Regions from separate parts of the Homo sapiens genome. Here regions 1 and 3 are each linked to region 2. The links are contacts of gene promoters, found by promoter capture Hi-C in human tissues and cell types (Jung and others, 2019). All regions are on one chromosome and are shown on one strand. The core of a region is centred on a gene start or on the middle of the fragment in contact, and the rest is flanking DNA. Distances in the headings are between cores, read along the strand shown.

Region 1 (2,974 bases), core at 256-2,755, 75 kb after region 2:
TAAATCCAATTTTTAATTATTTGTTTTTTGATTGAATTGTAATATTTCTTTATATATTCTGTATAAAAGTCTCTTATCAGATATATGATTTGTAAATATTTTCTCCCATTCTCTTTATTACTTTCTTGATAGTGCCCTTTTAAGTAAAAATTAGAAGTTTCAAAAAACTAAATGTTTTTAATGTTTGATGAAGTTCAATTTACCCACTTTTTGGTCACTTATGTTTTGGTGCCATATCTAAGAAACCCATTGCCTAGTCCAACCTCCGCCTTCTGGGTTCAAGTGATTCTCCTGCCTCAGCCTCCCGAGTAACTGGGACTACAGGTGTGCACCACCACACCCAGCTAATTTTTTTTTGTATTTTTAGTAGAGACAGGGTTTCACCGTGTTGGCCAGGATGGTCTCCATCTCCTGACCTCGTGATCCCCCTGCCTTGGCCTCCCAAATTGCTGGGACTACAAGCATGAGCCACTGCACCCAGCCCCTTTTAAGAGTTTTATAGTTTTCGCTAGAAGATCTACGATCCTTTTTCAGTTAATTTTTAACTAATTTGTGAGGTAAGGGTCCAACTTCCTTCTTTCACATGTGGATGGCCAATTGTTGCAGTGCCATATATTCAAAAAACTATTCTCTCCCTATTTAATTGTCTCAGCATCCTTGTTGAAAATCAGTTGACCATAGATATATGGGTTTAGTTCTGTACTCTCAAGTCAGTGCCATTGACCCTATGTCTATCCTAGGCCAGTATCACACTGTCTTGATCACTGTAGTTTTGAGAAAGTTTTGAAATCAGAAAGTGTGAGTTCTCCAATTTTGTTTTTCAAGATTGTTTTGGCTATTCTTGGTCCCTTGTACTTCCATGTGAATTTTAGGATCAGCTTATCCATTTCTGAAGAAAATAATTTGGAATTTTGCATGGATGGCACTGAATATGTAGAGCAGGACAAAAAGCAATCATAGAGCAATCTGATGAGTCCTGCCTTCTTAACAATGTGAAATCTTCCATGAACACAGGTTGTCTTTATATTTATTTAGGTCTTTAATTTGTTTCAACAATGTTTTGTAGCTTTTGTGTGCAAGTGTTGCACTTCTTTTGTTAAATTTATTTCTAAGTATTTTATTCCTTTTGAAGCTATTATACATTGAATTGTTTTTCTTAATTTGTTCTCAGATTGTTTATTGCTAGTGTATGGAAATACAATAGACTTTGATATATTACTCTTTTATTCTGCAATATGGTTTTCGATCCTGTTGTAAAGATAGGAAGACAGAGGATCACACAGCGTGCGTGATTAGCTTGGGATGACCTGGCTTTTTGTCCTGCCAATCTCCCTTTCTTTGCAGAACCACTCTTCTCAGCTGCAAGGGAATCCTGCTCAGTCTATGTAGTGAGCTTATTCCGCCTTCTCTCCCTCACCCCAGGGATGAGGTACCACCATCTTTTCCCACCACTGGTGAAATCCTGCTATAGAAAGAAGTCGGCTGGGCGCAGCGGCTCATGCCTGTAATCCCAGCACTTTGGGAGGCCAAGGTGGGCAGGTCACCTGAGGTCAGGAGTTTGATACCAGCCTGGCCAACGTGGTGAAACCCCATCTCTACTAAAAATACGAAAAATTAGCTGGGTGTGTTGGTGGGCGCCTGTAATCCCAGCTACATGGGAGGCTGAGGCAGAAGAATCACTTGAACATGGGAGGTGGAGGTTGCAGTGAGCCAAGATGGCACCACTGCACTCCAGCCTGGGCAACAGAGTGAGAATCCATCTCAAAAAAAAAAAAAAAAAAAGAATGAAGTAAACATAGAAAAAAATCACAATAAGAGCTGAAGCAAGAAAGAGGGGTCTGTCACCATCATTGAGCACCTGGATCCAGCCCTACCTAAAGCTAGTAACTCTAGAGTTTCCGGATACATTAGCTAATATTTCTCTTTAGCTTAAGGTTATTAGAACTGGGTTTCTGTCCCATGAAACCCAAAGAATCCTGATGTATACAGCTAGTAAAGGGCAGAGTGTGAGTTTTAAATCAGGCCTATGTGATTCCAAAGTTGTCCTCACTCCACGGTCCCTGCATGACCCCTTTCTTGTACTCGCACTGGCTGGGTGGATGTTTGAGAGGCTTCAGGGGATAAGTGAAGCTTGCAGCAGGTAAGCAATAGGGAGACTGGGTCTAAGACCCCAAAGATCTGCAGATGTAAGGAAAGATCAGGAAACCGGGTACAAGGCCAACTGAGGTCAAAGGCGGACCCCCAACTCTTACTGCCTGTGGGTCTTGGCCAGTCTCAGTCTCTCTGAGACCTTGTTTCCTGGGTTGGGACACCTTTTTCTGGCTGTGTTTTGGGCCCATTCCAGGCACACAGGCCCTAAAATAATCATGACAGCTCCTGAAATGTACTTGCCCAGTCATCTGTGTAATTCCCAGGAGATCTCTGAGAGCCCAGCAGGGCAGGGATGATCCTGGTCATTGTATAGCTGGGGAAACTGAGGCAAGGCAGTGTTCAGTGACTTATTTAAAGATCCCTAGCTCCTGAAAGACTGCGTGGAACCCAGGTCTCGTGTCTTTGTGTCTAATATTCTCATAGTAAACCAGGGGAGGCAGCAGCGCCTCTTTGGGATTTGCCTGGGGCCTGAGACTTCCCATAATCCAATTAATAAATTGTCCAAGATGGAGGGCCAGCTACCAATTAGTTCTCTTTCCTCCCTGGTGCCTCTTTGAGCTTTGTGGATAGCAACTCCCTGGAAAGGGAAGAGAGGCCCCCACTCTACACTCCCTCCTTGGGAATCAGGGGTCTAGAAATTAGCTGATTCTTGATAAGCCCTAATTATAAATTAGGTCTTATTATCTGTGGCTCCTGAAACTACGCTGGATGAATTAAAACTCTAGGAAAAGGAATATTTCAATTAACCATATGAACTCAGGTAATTGCCTGCCAAGGAAAAGCCCCTTACAGAACAAGTCCTGGGGCAGTTACGAGGACATCA
Region 2 (3,001 bases), core at 336-2,835:
TTTCATAATAATGTTAATTATGCATATCTTATTTTAATGGCGGTCTCTCCTACAAATCTGTGGGCTACTCAATTTGTATAATGTATGAATTTACATTTTTTCCACTTAATATTGCTCAAAAAAGGTTCCTGACATTTTCTGGATAAAACAACAACAAAAAAGAAATGCCTAGACCTTTCAGGAAACAAAATCAGAAAACAGTCTTAATTATTCCATCAAAACAAAAAAAACACACACACACACAAAACCCAACAAATACAGAAAAAAAGAAAGAAAGGATTTCACTGTAACTTTTCTAGTTTCTGTTTTCTTTAGAATCTTAGGATTTAAATGCAGTAAAATGTAAATGCAAAATTAAAAAAAAAAAACTACAATTTTTGGGTGTGTCCAAAGCCAACATTTTAGGTTCTATTTTCTCTTTTAAATCCTTCGTTCGTGGAAATAGAAAAACTTTAAATATTGCCATATAGAGAAATTAGTCTTTTTTTGCCCGCTGAGCTAAACAAGTTCCAAATTACAATGAAGTACAATTTCTAATTGCTTCATAAAGCCAATTCTCTCAGTTTTCCCTAAACTCAACAATTTCCCTCCTTTCTTTATTCCAATTAGTTTTTTTCTCAAACTAAAATGAGTTGGGTACCCAAACTGACTTTGCTTTTAGGAGGTTTTTTGCTTTCTCCCCTCCAAGAACTAAATTCATTCAAATTCCAGCTTAATTTTCATTTACATATTATCTGGATTTGGCTTCAGAAATAAAAATTGTCTCCATGCTTCTGGAAAGATCAAAGTGAAAATTTTCACCCGAAAAAAGAAAAAAAAAGAATCTCTTACCCCTCCACTGCCTGGTAGTGCAAACTTTTGAAAAAATAAGAAATAAAAAATATTTCTTTTCAATTTTAATTTCTTTTTTATTTACAAAATAGTATCCTCTAGGTGGCGTCGTTTTAATGGGAAAAAACTACCGTTTGAAGAAAAATTAGAAAAAAAAAATTGAGAAAGGAAAATATGGCCTAAAAAAAAAGATTGTTGCAAAAATGGGGGACCTGGGGGGAAAGACCTCCCGGGGGGTCATCGGGGACCCCGAGCGCAGAGAGGGTCAGGGGAAAATTGCAAATTTGGGGGGGAGGGGGCAGAGCTGGAAGGGGTTGCATTTTTGCAAAATGTGAATTGTCCAAACTGAAATGGCTGCTCTGTTCTCTCGCCGCTTTGTTTTCTGGGCTCCGGTCCGAGCCCGGGGCCGGAGGGGGCGCTGGGTGGGGGCCCCAAAAGACCCCCTCGTCACCCCCACCCTCCTCGCACCCCGCAGCGCCCGGGGGGGTGCTCTCCGGACCCCGACCCTCCCGATTGCGCCCACAAAAAGCCCGCAAACGTGCCCAGGCACTTTGCATTTTGCAAATCTTGCAATGAAGTGGCGCAGCGCCCCGGGCCCCGGCCCCCCGGGGTCCCCCGCGCGGTGCATGCCCCCGGCCCCCCGTCGTACCTGCGGAGCCGCCGCGCCGCCCGGCTGGTTCATGGGTCCGTGCGGGAGGAGGCGGCCCCGGCGCGTCCTGCTCCTCCCGGGCCGGGCTGCTGGTGCGCGCACAATGCCGCCGCCGCCGCCGCCGCCGCCGCCGCCGCTCCCTCCTCCGCCCGCCCCGCTCAGGCCGGGGGGGCGGGGGCGCTGGGGGCGCGCGGGGGGGGCGCCGGCCCTCGCCCCCACCCCCGGCCCGCACCGGCCGCGCCGCGGCAGCCGCTGCCGCCGAGCCGCCCCTCGCGGGGCCGCCGCCGCCCCCCGCCGCCCTGCCCGCCCCCGGGCCGGCCTCGCCGTGCGGCCCGCGAGCTCGGGGCCTCGGCCTCGGCCTCCGCGCTGCCGGCCTCCGCGTGGCACACAAAGCCGGCCGGTCCAGGGGCGCGCCCGCCCTCCCGTCCGCCAGCCCCAGTGCCGCGGCACACCCGCCCCCCCAAACTTTCCCGCGCCGCGCCCTGCCCTCCCCGCGCCCCCCGCGCCCGCTCCCCGGCTCCCTTCTGCCCTCCCCCAGTCCCCCAGCCCCTCGGAAATGTCATTTTCACGCTGGAAAAAAAGTTCAGGGAGCCGGCTCTCGGCGGAACGCAAGAGGTTAATGGGAACTCTGTACCCCGCTGTACCCCCCCGCCAAAAAAAAACCAGATTGATTTTTGAAATAAAAGTTTTCAAGAGCTGGCTTGCTGGAAGACTGGAAGGCTTATTGGGAATATTCTATTGCCCTGCCACTCCTCCCAAAAAAACTAATGTAATAAAATAAAAGTTTGAAGGACTGGCCCCATGTCCGACAAGAGTGGTTAAGGGGACTCTAGCCCCCCAGCCAGACTGATTTTTAAAATAAATACTTGAGGAGCCGCTTTTATGTGAAATGCCAGTGAAGCGGCTGTTTCTGCCTATCCTTGCCAAATTAAAATATATATATGTATTTCTAAATAAAAGTTTGAAAAACTGGTCCTACAGTAAGACAAGAGGGGTTAAAGGTTAAGGGATATTAGCGCCCCCCACCCCCATATCCCCCAGTTAGGTTGATTTAGAGAAGGAAAATTTGAGAAACTTGCATGTGAAATAAAACGTGAACCAGGATATTTCTTTCCAACACCCCAAAATAGCCAGTTTTTTTGTTGTTGTTATTGTTGTTTTTTTTTTTTTAACTTGAGCAACTGCCTCCTTGTGACTTGGGAAAGTTTAAAAGGGATTTTTTTTTCTATTCTCTTCCCTATTCTCCTAAAAAATCCGATTTTTTAAAAATTGAAAGTATGAAGGACCTGCCCTATTATAGAGACAAGGAGGGATTACTGGATCCATCCTACATCTCCCACAACTGGTTGATTTTTGGAATAAAAATGTTAAGAATTGCTCTTCTATGAGATGCAAGGTGAACAGAAATCCTTCTTTGCCCCTCCCCAAAAGAAAACTGCAAGGGTACTTTTCAAAAATAAAAGCATTGGAAATTAAGAGTAACCAGGTATCTTCTCTCTGCCCCCACCTTCAAAAATCAAA
Region 3 (3,065 bases), core at 462-2,961, 110 kb after region 2:
CAAGGATAGTACAGGGCTGAGCATTTCTCCAATAAATTGAAACAGTGTGGGTGGTCAGGAAGAAAGCAAACAAACAAAAACCCCACATGCTATGTACTTATTTACCAAGTATTAAGTTACTACCTTATCCTTTAAGGTTTAAGTAAACTTCAGTTCAAACCACAGCCAAGATAGAATGTGTGGTAGGGTGTGTGTCTGTTCACCATGGTTGGTACCTCTTCTGGTGGCACTGAGCACATTCCACCCTGTTAAACTCAGGCATGGCCAGGTGTCTTTCTTTAACCAATTAAACACGATTAGAAGTGAGATTGCTGAAAGGAAACTTTAAAAGTCAATGTGTGGTTCATCACCTTCTTTTTCGCCTCTGCCTTATTGATCAGCAATGTCCCAGATAAGAGCTACTCCATCAGCCTGAATCCCAAAGTGCAGAGAGGTTGATGACAGCATAGTGAGAAATAAACATTTGTGGTTGTGGCTCACTTAGATTGGCAGTGGGGAGGTTCTTTATTACTGCAGCATAAAGTTTCCTATTCTGACTGATACTCAGAGTAAAACCCAGTGCCCCTCCCAATATCTCCAAAGGTTTTTAGATGCTTCCTCCTCTGGTTCTGTATTTCTGCCTCTTCCAACTAATCTTATCTTGAGTGGCAATCAGCTCCATTTTCTTGAAGTCCCCCAGATCACCCACACAGGTCATTTATGTAAATAGAAGACTATGACTTGTGGTTTAGGTGTGAAGGAGGGCATTTACACTACAACATCACAGTAACTTCACACTGAAAACTGACATCCCTGGTCACTTGAAGTCTTTTGGCCACTTCACCACTAGAAATTTTTCATGGGTCACTCTCCTCCAGTTTCCAGCCTGTATTAGTCCATTTTCATGCTGCTGATAAAGACATACCTGAGACTGGGTAATTTATAAAGAAAAAGAGGGTTAATGGACTCACAGTTCCACGTGGCTGGGGAGGCCTCACAATCATGGCAGAAGGTGAAAGGCACATCTTACATGGTGGCAGGCAAGAGAGAATGAGAATCAAGCAAAAGAGGAAACCCCTATAAAAACATTAGATCTCATGAGACTTATTCACCACCATGAGAATGGCATAGGGGAAACCACCACCATGATTCAATTATCTCCCATTAGGTCCCTCCCACAACATGTGGGAATTATGGAAGCTACAGTTCAAGATGAGGTTTGGGTGGGGACACAGCCAAACCATATTACAGCCTCTTGCCATGATGCCAGGTTTCCATCTTTCTTTTTCTTTTCTCTCTTTACTCTTTTTCCCCTTCTCTATTCTCTGCCAACTCAAAATTCTTGTTTGTTCCTTATGAAGAATTTTTAGCTTGTTTTGAGGTCTCCTTCCAGCTAATGTTCTTATGGACTCAATTTCCTCCTCTAAGAGGCTTTCCCAAGCAGTTTTCAAAATACAGTTCCTTCTCTGCTATTAAAATTATTTTTCCCAACACACACGTAAATAGAATGATCCTTGCTTTCAAGATACTCCAGGTCTAGAGGGAACACACTTTTTTTTTTTTTTTTAGCTTTTATTTTAGGTTCAGGGGTATACGTGCAGCTTTGTTGTATAGCTAAACTTGTGTCATCATGGGGGTTGTTGTACAGATTATTTAGTCACCTAGGTACTAAGCCTAGTACCCAATGGTTATTTTTTCTGATCCTCTCCCTCCTCCCACCCTTCACCCTTAAGTAGGTCCCAGTGTCTGTTATTCCTCAATTTGTGTCCATGGGAGCACACATTTTCTAGGACCCAGTGTACTTTATAAGAATATCTCCAAAGTAGTGAACCAGAAGCTTTTCGTCCATGAAGAAACTCTGTAAGTTATTTCTGATTCAGACTATCAAATGTGTGTCTTGACCCTGAGCACCTGGAATTTGTACTTCTCTCAGAATTTCAAAGACATCTAATACTCAGATAATTTTAAAGAATCCTGTCTCAAACATTTAAAGGAAGCCTTTAAGCTGAGTCTTCAGGGCAAATCCAGGGCCAGACAAGAGTACAGCCACAGATAGCGCTGTGAATATGAGAGAGAGGAGTTGCCTTCCCTATGGCTTCAGAATTTATCAATGAGTAGAAGAGAAAGGAAAAGGGTGGTGGGATTTCTGGTAGAGGAAAAGCCACAGATGAGAGGTCCCCAGACTAAGTGTGTCTTTGGGGAAGACAATAGACTCACTTAAGAACTAGAGTCATAAAAGAATGCAGATCTCCCAAACAAAACATAATTGAGCAGAGAGATGAGACCTGATCCCATAAATAACCGGCCATAATTAGAACATATCAACAGTTCCCATTAAAGAAACATCAGGCAGTCAAGTACTGGAAGTCTGGGAAAATTGAGTTCTTAATTAAATCCTCATCAGAATTACTAGTACCCATATCCTCCACATCCCATTTCCCCAAGTCTCAAGTGTAGGTGTATCAGGAAATGGCTTGGTTCTATGTAATCACACGAAATGAATTCTTCCCCTGCTCAATCTTCAGGACTGATAGAGCCACTGGGTCCTAGTTCTTAAAACACTAATCTTCAAAGAAACCTGGGAAAATCTCAGTTTTCCCAGACATGAGCCATGCAGGCAGTCTTCTTTTAAAGAAATGTTTATCTTCTCTTAATTACACTTCTGTGCTCAACATCTGCCTTGGTTCCCTAATGTCTACAGAATATAATCCAACCTCCTGAAACTGGAATTCCTCCTGGAATTGGAATTTCTCCAACTCTCTCTTCTCCATTCCCTAGACATGGTTTATTCTGTGCTGGGTCACTTTTTATGCTGATTCAGTCCCCTCAGCCTGGAATATCCTTTCTCTCGTTCTCTGATCACCAAAATCTCACTAGAATCCCACTATTTCACCAGAAATATTCTCATCAAGATCACCAGGCATATTCACTCATCAGCCCTTCTCAGCAGCATTCAATCTGTGGACCTGTTTCTTTTCTACAAAGACTCTGTCCCTAGATTCGGTGACTCCATACTATTCTCTTGGTTTTCTTCCTAATTCTCTGACCACCTCTCCTTAGTCTCCTTTCAATTCTTCCCCTCACTC

The links. Contacts are between HindIII fragments. The study calls those that stand out against the background at their distance.
Region 1: a fragment that was not itself captured here is called in contact with the fragment with the promoter of ZNF618 in region 2 in 4 of the 25 tissues and cell types used here (adrenal gland, bladder, liver and 1 more).
Region 3: a fragment that was not itself captured here is called in contact with the fragment with the promoter of ZNF618 in region 2 in 2 of the 25 tissues and cell types used here (aorta and spleen).

Annotation. Positions count from the first base shown.
Region 1 is chr9:113,800,261-113,803,234 of GRCh38, reverse strand. No RefSeq gene overlaps it. Among named protein-coding and RNA genes, the nearest start is that of ZNF618, 75 kb to the left of the region's middle. The HindIII fragment of the contact is 4,669 bases long and covers 1-2,974 here.
Region 2 is chr9:113,874,893-113,877,893 of GRCh38, reverse strand. ZNF618 (zinc finger protein 618) reads right to left here and starts at 1,585. Exons shown (of 15, transcript NM_001318042.2): 1 at 1,481-1,585. The coding sequence starts at 1,513. The HindIII fragment of the contact is 30,531 bases long and covers 1-3,001 here.
Region 3 is chr9:113,764,920-113,767,984 of GRCh38, reverse strand. No RefSeq gene overlaps it. Among named protein-coding and RNA genes, the nearest start is that of ZNF618, 110 kb to the left of the region's middle. The HindIII fragment of the contact is 7,375 bases long and covers 1-3,065 here.